Regions from separate parts of the Homo sapiens genome. Here all the other regions are linked to region 1. The links are contacts of gene promoters, found by promoter capture Hi-C in blood cells and fetal thymus (Javierre and others, 2016). All regions are on one chromosome and are shown on one strand. Each heading gives the region's core, a stretch centred on a gene start or on the middle of the fragment in contact. The rest is flanking DNA. Distances are from core to core; before and after follow the strand shown.

The links. The method cuts DNA at HindIII sites, captures the fragments that hold promoters and counts their contacts. A CHiCAGO score of 5 or more calls a contact.
Region 2: a contact is called between a fragment that was not itself captured here and the fragment with the promoter of BRAP in region 1, in 3 of 17 cell types (megakaryocytes, erythroblasts and endothelial precursors). The highest score is 7.4, in megakaryocytes.
Region 3: a fragment that was not itself captured here is called in contact with the fragment with the promoter of BRAP in region 1 in 2 of 17 cell types (erythroblasts and megakaryocytes); the score reaches 6.4 in erythroblasts.

The regions. Positions count from the first base shown.
Region 1 is chr12:111,684,493-111,687,999 of GRCh38, reverse strand. It overlaps BRAP (BRCA1 associated protein), which reads left to right and starts at 2,044. Exons shown (of 12, transcript NM_006768.5): 1 at 2,044-2,289. The coding sequence starts at 2,208. It overlaps ACAD10 (acyl-CoA dehydrogenase family member 10), which reads right to left and starts at 1,947. Exons shown (of 21, transcript NM_025247.6): 1 at 1,761-1,947. RefSeq lists a silencer at 2,172-2,271 and enhancers at 1,616-2,317, 2,318-3,019, 3,020-3,507. The HindIII fragment of the contact is 2,811 bases long and covers 31-2,841 here.
Region 2 is chr12:111,505,511-111,508,954 of GRCh38, reverse strand. All of the region lies in intron 14 of ATXN2 (ataxin 2), which reads left to right. Among named protein-coding and RNA genes, the nearest start is that of ATXN2, 92 kb to the left of the region's middle. The HindIII fragment of the contact is 4,535 bases long and covers 1-3,444 here.
Region 3 is chr12:111,477,011-111,480,552 of GRCh38, reverse strand. All of the region lies in intron 18 of ATXN2 (ataxin 2), which reads left to right. Among named protein-coding and RNA genes, the nearest start is that of SH2B3, 73 kb to the right of the region's middle. The HindIII fragment of the contact is 2,052 bases long and covers 924-2,975 here.

The DNA of each region.
Region 1 (3,507 bases), core at 795-3,294:
CAGCTACTTGGGAGACTGAGGCAGGAAGCTTGAACCCAGGAAGCCGAGGTTGCAGTGAGCCGAGATGGCACCACTGCACTCCAGCCTGGGCGACAGAGTGAGACTCCGTCTCAAAATACAAAAAAAAAAAAAGGTTTGTTTGGTAAAGAGATAAAGAATGTTCGTTCTGGATTCAGATTGCCTGAATTTCAGTTCCAGCTCTGCCACTACTACCTGTGAAATCCTGAGCCAGTTACTCTTCCTCCAAGCCTCAGGTTACTCCTCTGTAGAACAGGGACATAGTACCAGTTTCATAAAGTTGTTGTGACCATTGCATGACACAAGGTATATGAAACACTCAAATTAGTACCTGGCACATGTTGAAATGTTATCTACTATAGTAATATACTAAAAAAGTTCACAAGAGGTCTCATAGGTTTTATGCATACAGTATGTGTGTATGGTTTATGCACTTTCACATAACCCTGTGATTCTTCAACAGGGTTATGTTTTCTAACCCCAAGGAGACATCTGGAAAGGTCCAGAGACATTATTGGTTGTCACCACCTGGGGAGAGGTGCTACTGACATCTAGTGGGTCAGGCCAGGGATGTTTCTAAACACTCTACAATGCTCAGGACACCCCGCCCCCTTGCCAAAAACAAAAAAGAATAATCAGGACCCAAAATGTTAATAGTGCAGAGTTGAGAAACCCTGATTTAAACAGGGCATATGGAAACGTATTTCATAGGATGTAGTCACAAGATCTATATACGCATGTATCTTGTGGTCATGTCATAGTCCAGATACACACACATCTAGAACGCACTATGTCCACACACACACACATCTAGAATGTACTATGTACTTACATATGTATCATTATACAATGTACCTAGAGTAGCATCCTGTCATGTATGTGTCCCATATGCATTGATTGTGTCAGTATCTACATACAAAAGCCACTCTGACATACTGGAAAGAATGCTGAGCCTCAGAAAAGCTAATGTTATCTCCATATACATAATTCCATTTCATCCTCACAACTGCATGAGGACATGATATCATGCCAACTTTATGCAATGACTATACTAGTTCAAGACTGCACAACTGCTGATGTAGGTCAACCTCATAGTACGGACAGGAACTGTGTTTATCTTATACGCCAACGTATCTCAAGCATCCCAAGGGTGTCTAGACTCTCAGTAAACATTTGTGAAGTGACAGGGTGGGGAGGAGGACCCCGGTCTAACTGCAGCACTATGCTCGTAACCAGCAGATCACCATCTTTTCTCTCTTTTTTTTGAGACGGAGTTTCGCTCTTGTTGCCCAGGCGGGAGTGCACTAGCACTATCTCGACTCACTGCAACCTCCGCCTCCCGGGTTCAAGCGATTCTCCTGTCTCAGCCTCCCAAGTAGCTTGGACTACAGACGCGCGCCACCAAGCCCGGCTAATTTTTTGTATGTTCAGTAGAGACGAGGTTTCACCATGTTGGCCAGGTTGGTCTCGAACTGCTGACCTGAGGTGATTCGCCCGCCTAAGCCTCTGGGCTGGGATTACAGGCGTGAGCCACCGCGCCCAGCCAGATCGCTATCTGAACAGCGATCGACTCTCCACTCTCTACGGCCCCTTAGAAGGAACTTCACCTCTCTGAGCCTCGTTGTACCTATCTGTAAAGTGGGACAGAAACAAAACCATCCAGACTAGGGTTAGAGACAGGAGTCAAACACAACAAAAGGGGCAAAGTTCTGCATAGCAGATAGCTCGGACAATTCGGAGACCTCGCGGAGCCAGGGATCCCGCGCCGTCAGCCGAGGTGGATTAGGACGAGGCCTCTGGAGCAAGCAGAGGTTAACTCGCGACTGTGCGAAAACCTGCAGCTCAGCCTAAGTGTGGCACCCCAGCGCAAGCAATCTCCACGACGTCCTTCCGCTCCGACCTCCTCAAAATTGCGTCCGGAAGAGCAGTGGGTGACCCCTGCCACGCCGCCCAATCGCTGTGCGCGGTCCTGCGCGCATGCGTAAACCGCAGGTCAGCGACGGCGGCCGGGAGGCGGAAGTGGAGGTTGTTGTGGCTCCGAGGGCTGTTCGAGGAGCTGCTGCTGCTGAGGCGGCGGCAACTGCATTGAGGTGGTGGCGGCGCTGCCGGCCCCGGGCCGCTCGGCCTCTCGGCTCGCCTTCCAGCCTCGCCTGAGCCCGCCGGGGCCCGCGCCGGCCAGCGCCTGCCCTATGAGTGTGTCACTGGTTGTTATCCGATTGGAGCTCGCGGAACACTCGCCTGTCCCCGCCGGCTTCGGCTTCAGCGCCGCGGGTGAGTCCCGCGGCCTCGCCGCATTCCCTGTAGCCGGGTCTGGGCCCGGAGGGCTTCCCTTCCCAAAGCACTGGCCCGGGAAAAGCCCGCGGCGAGGGCTGTTGCCCAGGAAGACACGGAGAGGTAATCGGGATCCCTCTCTTTCCCATCCGCCTTTGAGAGGCCTTCCCGTTTGTTATCTCAGGGAAGCCCTGCCCCGAACCTCCCTCCCTGTGCCGTCTGAGGGCATTTAGTTTATACCTGGCGCGTCTCCCTCTCGAGATAGTCGAGTGGTGTGTTTGTCTCACTTGCTTCCCTATGGGCTTCGTAAAGGCAGGGACTGGGTCCCCAGCAACGCTGGACGGTCCCTGGGTTAATTAAATTGTTCCCTTTTGGAACGATATCCATTGAAGTGCCCCCTAACCATAGTCATAACTAAAATTTGGACACTTCCTATATCCCAGCACTGTACTAAGCACCTTTTGTGTATTGTATTCTTTAATTATCTTTGCAACAGCCCTAAGAGGCAGATGGATGTGACATGTACCTCTTACACATTGGGAAACTGAAGCTTAGTGATTAATTGATTTGCCCAAGGTTATCTGTAATGGGTGAAACTGGGATTCTAACTCAGTGAGCTGGACTTGAGTCTGAGCTTTTTACACCATTAACACAAGTGAGGAAGCTCCTTAGTGGGGAATGCAGCTCTGGCTCTGTTCCTTGGTCCTCAGATAATTAACTAACATTCATTCAAGAAATACTTGGCCGGGCGCGGTGGCTCACGCCTGTAATCCTCACACTTTGGGAGGCCGAGGCGGGCGGGTCACCTGAGGTTGAGAGTTCAAGACCAGCCTGGCCAACATGGTGAAACCCTGTCTGTACTAAAAATACAAAAATTAGCTGGGCGTGGTGACAGGTGCCTGTAATCCCAGCTACTGGGGAGGCTGAGGCAGGAGAATCGCTTGAACCCGGGAGGTGGAGGTTGCGGTGAGCCAAGATTGTGGCACTGCACTCCAGCCTGGGCGACAAGAGATAAAGTCCATTTCAAAAAAAAAAACAAAAAAAAAACTTATGCTCATATCTGCTGGAGCCTTCCTTGTGTGCTGAATCAGACAGCGTCTCTGTTTTAATGGCACCAGCAGTATCATGGAGGAAACAGATGAATTAAATAAGTGCAGAATATGTGTAGAATTACAACTGTGGTAAGTGCTGTGAAGGAAAGGAGAAACAATTTGGGAA
Region 2 (3,444 bases), core at 109-2,608, 180 kb after region 1:
AAAAAAAGTAGCTGAATTAAAGGATGAGTGAACCAAAGGCAAAGGTAGCCTTTCCTCAGCCTGTGTTTTAGCTTTCTAAATGTTAACAATAGCTTCATTCTTGACTTATTGGTAACATTCAAAATACTACTTATTATTTCATACTTTAGCACATGTATCTATTCAGCTTTAATGCTATTAACAGTTGTTAACCTAAGTTTTCATTTGTTGGCGGGCACGGTGGCTCACACCTGTAATCCTAGCACTTTGGGAGGCCGAGGTGGGCAGATCACCTAAGGTCAGGAGTTCGAGACCAGCCTGGTCAACATGGTGAAACCCTGTCTTGACCAAAAATAGAAAAATTAGCTAGGCATGGTGGCGCACACTTGTAATCCCAGCTACTTGGCAGGCTGAGGCAGGATAATCGCTTGAACCCAGGAGACAGAGGTTGCAGTGAGCCGAGATCACACCACTCCACTCCATCCTGGGCGACAGAGCAAGACTGCATCTCAAAAAAAAAAAAAAAAAAAAAAAGTTTTTCAATTTGTTAAACAATAGTTAACACATACAAATGATACAAAGAATATTGAATATGATCATGTGCCCACTACCCAGCTTAGTAAATAAAGCATTCTAACACAGTTAAACTCCTCTTATGTATCTGCCCCTCCTCAGCTGCTTCCCCCTGTTTCCTTCCAAAAGGAAGGGTTTCTTTTCTGTGCAGTTCTTTATATTTATACTGCATATGAATATATCTGTGAGCAATAGATGATATTTTGCATAATCTTAAATTTGCTATAAAGTCTTTTTTTTTTTTTTAATTGATCATTCTTGGGTGTTTCTCGCAGAGGGGGATTTGGCAGGGTCATAGGACAATAGTGGAGGGAAGGTCAGCAGATAAAAAGTGAACAAAGGTCTCTGGTTTTCCTAGGCAGAGGACCCTGCGGCCTTCCGCAGTGTTTGTGTCCCTGGGTACTTGAGATTAGGGAGTGGTGATGACTCTTAACGAGCATGCTGCCTTCAAGCATCTGTTTAACAAAGCACATCTTGCACCGCCCTTAATCCATTTAACCCTGAGTGACACAGCACATGTTTCAGAGAGCACAGGGTTGGGGGTAAGGTCATAGATCAACAGGATCCCAAGGCAGAAGAATCTTTCTTAGTACAGAACAAAATGAAAAGTCTACCATGTCTACTTCTTTCTCCACAGACGCAGCAACCATCCGATTTCTCAATCTTTTCCCCACCTTTCCCCCTTTTCTATTCCACAAAGCCGCCATTGTCATCATGGCCCGTTCTCAATAAGCTGTTGGGTACACCTCCCAGACGGGGTGGTGGCCGGGCAGAGGGGCTCCTCACTTCCCAGAAGGGGCGGCCGGGCAGAGGTGCCCCCCACCTCCCGGACGGGGCGGCTGGCTGGGCGGGGGCTGACCCCCCACCTCCCTCCCGGATGGGGCGGCTGGCCGGGCGGGGGCTGACCCCCACCTCCCTCCCGGACGGGTTGGCTGCCGGGTGGAGATGCTCCTCACTTCCCAGACGGGGTGGCTGCCAGGCGGAGGGGCTTCTCACTTCTCAGACGGGGCGGCTGCCGGGCAGAGGGGCTCCTCACTTCTCAGACGGGGCGGCCAGGCAGAGACGCTCCTCACCTCCCAGACGGGGTCGCGGCCGGGCAGAGGCGCTCCTCACATCCCAGACGGGGCAGCGGGGCAGAGGCGCTCCCCACATCTCAGACGACGGGTGGCCGGGCAGAGACGCTCCTCACTTCCTAGACGGGATGGCGGCCGGGAAGAGGTGCTCCTCACTTCCCAGACTGGGCAGCCGGGCAGAGGGGCTCCTCACATCCCAGACGATGGGTGGCCAGGCAGAGACGCTCCTCACTTCCCAGACGGGGTGGCGGCCGGGCAGAGGCTGCAATCTCGGCACTTTGGGAGGCCAAGGCAGGTGGCTGGGAGGTGGAGGTTGTAGCGAGCCGAGATCACGCCACTGCACTCCAGCCTGGGCACCATTGAGCACTGAGTGAACGAGACTCCGTCTGCAATCCCGGCACCTCGGGAGGCCGAGGCTGGCAGATCACTCGCGGTTAGGAGCTGGAGACCAGCCCGGCCAACACAGCGAAACCCCGTCTCCACCAAAAAAATACGAAAACCAGTCAGGCGTGGCGGCGCGGGCCTGCAATCACAGGCACTAGGCAGGCTGAGGCAGGAGAATCAGGCAGGGAGGTTGCAGTGAGCCGAGATGGCAGCAGTACAGTCTAGCTTCGGCTCGGCATCAGAGGGAGACCGTGGAAAGAGAGGGAGAGGGAGACCGTGGGGAGAAGGAGAAGGAGGGGGAGGGGGAGGGGGGGAGAGGGAGAGGGACAATGATGTCTTGCTGTAGGTATTCTTCCCCATTTGAATTTTTTCCTCAGCATTATTTTTTTTAACATCATTCAGTCTCCTCTTATACTACACTTGGATTGAATTTAATATCTCATGAAGAAAAAACATTTCTACTTTGAAGCATGTGAATTAGCATGTTTTTATAACAGCTTTATTGAGATATAATTTACATATATAAATAAACCGTTTAAAGTGTATAAATCAGTGGTTTTTAATGAGATATAATTTACATATATAAATCAACCATTTAAAGTGTATAAATCAGTGGTTTTTAAAATATTCACAATGTTGTACAACCGTCTTCTCAGTTGATTTTAAAACATACTCTTCACCCCCAAAAGAAACCCCGTGCCCAGTTTAGCAGTCGTTCCACATTTGCCTCCAGCCCTTCTCTTTCCCCTACTCCCAACCCTAAGCAACCGTTAATCTACTTTCTGTCTCTATGGATGGGCTTATTTGGGGCAAATTCCATTTCATACAAATGGAATAATAAAATATGTGGCTTTTATGACTGGCTTCTTTCACTCAGAGTAGTGTTATAAAAGTTCATCCATGTTGGAGCATGTTTCAGTACTTCATTTCTTTTTGTGACTGACTAATATTCCTTGATGTGGATAATACCACATTTTGTTTATCCATTAATCAGTTTGTAGCTATTTGTGGTGTTCTCACTGTTTGACTATTCTGAATAACACTGCCACAAACATGAGTGTGCAGTTTTTTTCTCGTCCTATCTTTTCATTTCTTTTGTGTACCTACCTAGGAGTTGAATTGCTGGGTCATATGGCAACTGTGTTTAACCTTTTGAGGAACTACCAAGCTATTTGCCAAGATATCTACACTATTTTACATTCCCACCAGCAGGGTATGAGGGTTTCTGTTTCTCCACATCCTTGCTAACACTTATTGTCTTGTCTTTTTTGATTATAGTCATCCTTGTGGGTGTGAAGTGTTAACCTCATTGTGGCTTTAATGTGCAGTTCTTTCATGGCTAATGATGTTGAACATCTTTTGTGTTTATTGGCCATTTATATATCTTCTTTGGATTGATGTCTGTTCAAATCTTTACCCATTTTAAAAATTGAGT
Region 3 (3,542 bases), core at 700-3,199, 210 kb after region 1:
CAGGGGTGCGCCACCACACCCAGCTAATTTTTGTATTTTTAGTAGAGACGGGGTTTTACCGTGTTGGTCAGGCTGGTCTCGAACTCCTGATCTCGTGATCTGCCTGTCTCCTGGCACCCTGGGAGGCTGAGAGGCTGAGGTGGGAGGATCACTTGAGCTCAGGAGTTTGAGACCAGCCTGTACCATTATGCCTGGCTAATTTTAGAATTTATCTTAAAGTATAAAATGTGAATCCAATTTATCTTGTTCTAAATGACTATCCAAAATGTTTTAACCAGTTTTATTAGTCTGTAATTTACATACAAGAAAATGCTCATCTTTTTATGTTTACATTTTAATGAGTTTTGACAAATATATTTGCTCATGTAACTACTTGCTTCATCAGTGAAGATGGAAAACATTGTGCCTGTTCCTCTTCTCTGTCCAACTGTACTTTATTACCACTAGCTCCAGTTAACCAGTAATCTGCCTTCTTTTACTATAGATTAGATTTATCCTCTTTAGATTTCTTTTTCTTTTTTTTTTTTTGATTAGGTTTTTTTTTTTCTTTTTTTACGTAAAAAAATCTTTTTTTGGAGACGTCTCATTATATTGCCCAGGTTGGTCTCGAACTCTTGAGCTCACCTCAGCCTCCCAGAGTGCTAGGATTACAGATGTGAGCCACCTCAGCCAGCCCCTAGATTTTTTTTTTTTTTTTAATAAATGGAATCAAACAGCGTGTAACAGAGGTGTTCAATCTTTTGGCTTCCCTGGGTCATATTGGAAGAAGAATTGTGTTGGGCCACACATAAAATACAGTAACACTAATGATAGCTGATGAACAAAACAAAAAAAAATAGCAAAACTTATAATGTTTTAAGAAAGTTTATGAATTTGTGTTGGGCCACATTCAAAGCCGTCCCAGGACGCAAGTTGGACAAGCTTGGTATATAATTTCATATGTGTGTCCTAAACAGTGTAGTAATTTGAATTTCATGTTAGTATCAGCTTATTCCTTTTTGTTTGTTTGTTTGTTTTTGAGATGGAGTCTTGTTCTGTGTCCCAGAATTGGTCTGCAATTCCACTGCCTCAGCCTCCCAAGTAGCTGGGATTACAGGCACGTGCCACCACACCTGGCTAATTTTTGTCTCTCTCTCTTTTTTTTTTTTTTTTTTTTTTTTTTAGCAGAGACGGGATTTCACCATGTTGGCCAGGCTGGTCTCAAACTCCTGACCCCAAATGATCCACCTGCCTTGGCCTCCCAAAGTGCTGGGATTACAGGTGTGAGTCACCGTGCCCAGCCAGCTTATTCCTTTTTATTGCTGGGTAGCATTTCATTTTATGATTATACCACAGTTAATTTACCCATTACTAGTCGATGGGCATTTGAGTTATTGCCAGCTTTTGGCTATTATGAATGAAGCTGCTGTGAGCATTTGTGTACAAGTGTTTGTGTTTTTATTTCTTTTAGTTAAATACCTAGAATTGGAATTGCTGAGGTATGGTAAGTGCATATTTCATTTTTTTAAAAAATTTATTTTATTTTTTATTTATTTATTTTTTTTGAGATGAAGTCTCACTCTGTTGCCCAGGCTGGAGTTCAGTGGCGTGATTTCAGCTCATGGCAACCTCCCTGTCCCGGGTTCAAGCAATTCTCCCGCCTCAGCCTCCCAAGTAGCTGGGATTACAGGCGCGCACCACCATGCCTGGCTAATTTTTTTGTATTTTTAGTAGAGACGGGGTTTCACCACGTTGGCCAGGCTGGTCTCGAACTCCTGACCACAAGTGATCCACCCGCCCCAGCCTCCCAAAGTGTTGGGATTACAGATGTGAGCCACCACACACTGCCTGGTAAATACATATTTCAATTAATAAGAAACTAGCAATCTTCTAAAGTGATTGTGTCATTTTACATTCCAACTGATCAGGTACATGTGTAGGTTCCATGTGTTCTGCATCCTTGCCAACACTTGGTATTGTGTTATCTTTTTAATTTCAACAGGTCTAATGGGTGTCTTATGGTATCTCATTGTGATCTTAAATGTACATTTCTCTGATGATGACTGATCCAGGAGCACCTCATCATGTGTGTGTTTGTTTTCAGCTGTCAACCTTTTTTTAGTAAATGGTTCAAATCTTTTTTCCATTTTATTTATTTATTTATTTATTTGATGGAATCTCACTCTATTGCCCAGGCTGGAACGCAGTGGTGCCATCTTGGCTCACTGCAACCTCCGCCTCCCAGGTTCAAGCAATTCTTACGCCTTAGCCTCCCAAGTAGCTGGGATTACAGGCATGCGCCACCATGCCTGGCTAATTTTGTATTTTTAGTGTAGGTGGGGTTTCACCATGTTGGTCATGCTGGTCTCTAACTCCTGACCTCAGGTGATCTACCTGCCTCGGCCTCCCAAAGTGCTGAGATTACAGGTGTGAGCCACTGCGCCTGTCCTAATAATTTCTTTTTGTCTCAATGTTTCTGCCTGGGTGCACTGGCTCACGCCTGTAATTCCAGCACTTTGGGAGGCCAACCTGGATGGATCATTTGAGCCAACAGTTTGAGACCAGCCTGAGGAACATGACAAAACCCTGTCTTTGCAAAAAAAAAAAAGAAAAAAGAAAAATTAGCCAGGCACAGAAGCGCATTCCTATGGTCCCAGCTACTTGGGGGGCTGAGGTGGGACAATCGCTTGAGCGAGGTTGCGGGGGTTTGGAGGGCGATGGAGGGGTGATCGAGGTTGCAGTGAGCTGAGATTGCACTACTGCACTCCAGCCTGGGCAATAGAGCCAGACCCTGTCTCACAAAAAAAAGAAAAAAAAGTCATGTTTCTTTTCTTACTGTGAAAATAAAGTTACTACTTTTAGTAAATTATTTTAAGTTATTTATATATTCTGGTTACAAGTCCTTTCTCAGAATATTGTGAATATTTTCTCCCAGTCTGCGGTTTTTTTTGAAGAGCCAGTATTGTTAATTTTAATGAAGCCTTATTTATCAAGCTTTTCTCTTAAGGTTCATGCTTTTTTGTATCATAATAAGAAATCTTTTACGTACCCTAGGTTATGAATGTTTTTATGGTTAGGTATATGGTTGATTTCAGGTTAGGTTTTGTGTAGGGTGTGATGTAAAGGTCTAGCTTCATTTTCTCCACCATAAATATTTACTCGGTTTCTCTGGCACCAGCCTCTGTTTTCCATTGGTGGCTTTATTTTTTTTCTGTTCTTGAAACAAGAGTCTCGATCTTGTTACCCAGGCTGGAGTGCAGTAGTGTGACCTTGGCTCACTGCAACCTCCACTTCCCAGGGTCAAGCGATTCTGCCTCAGCCTCTCGAGTAGCTAGGATTACAGGTGCCCGCCACTACACCCAGCTAATTTGTATTTTTTTTTTTTTTTTTTTTAGTAGAGACAGGGTCTCACCATGTTGGCCAGGCTAGTCTCGAACTCCTGACCTCAGGTGATCTGCTCATCTCAGCCTCCCAAAGTTCTGGGATTACAGGCATGAGCCACTGCGCCCAGCCATAGTAGCTTTATTGAATTCAGTTGACTGTATTGTATGTGTGTCTATTTG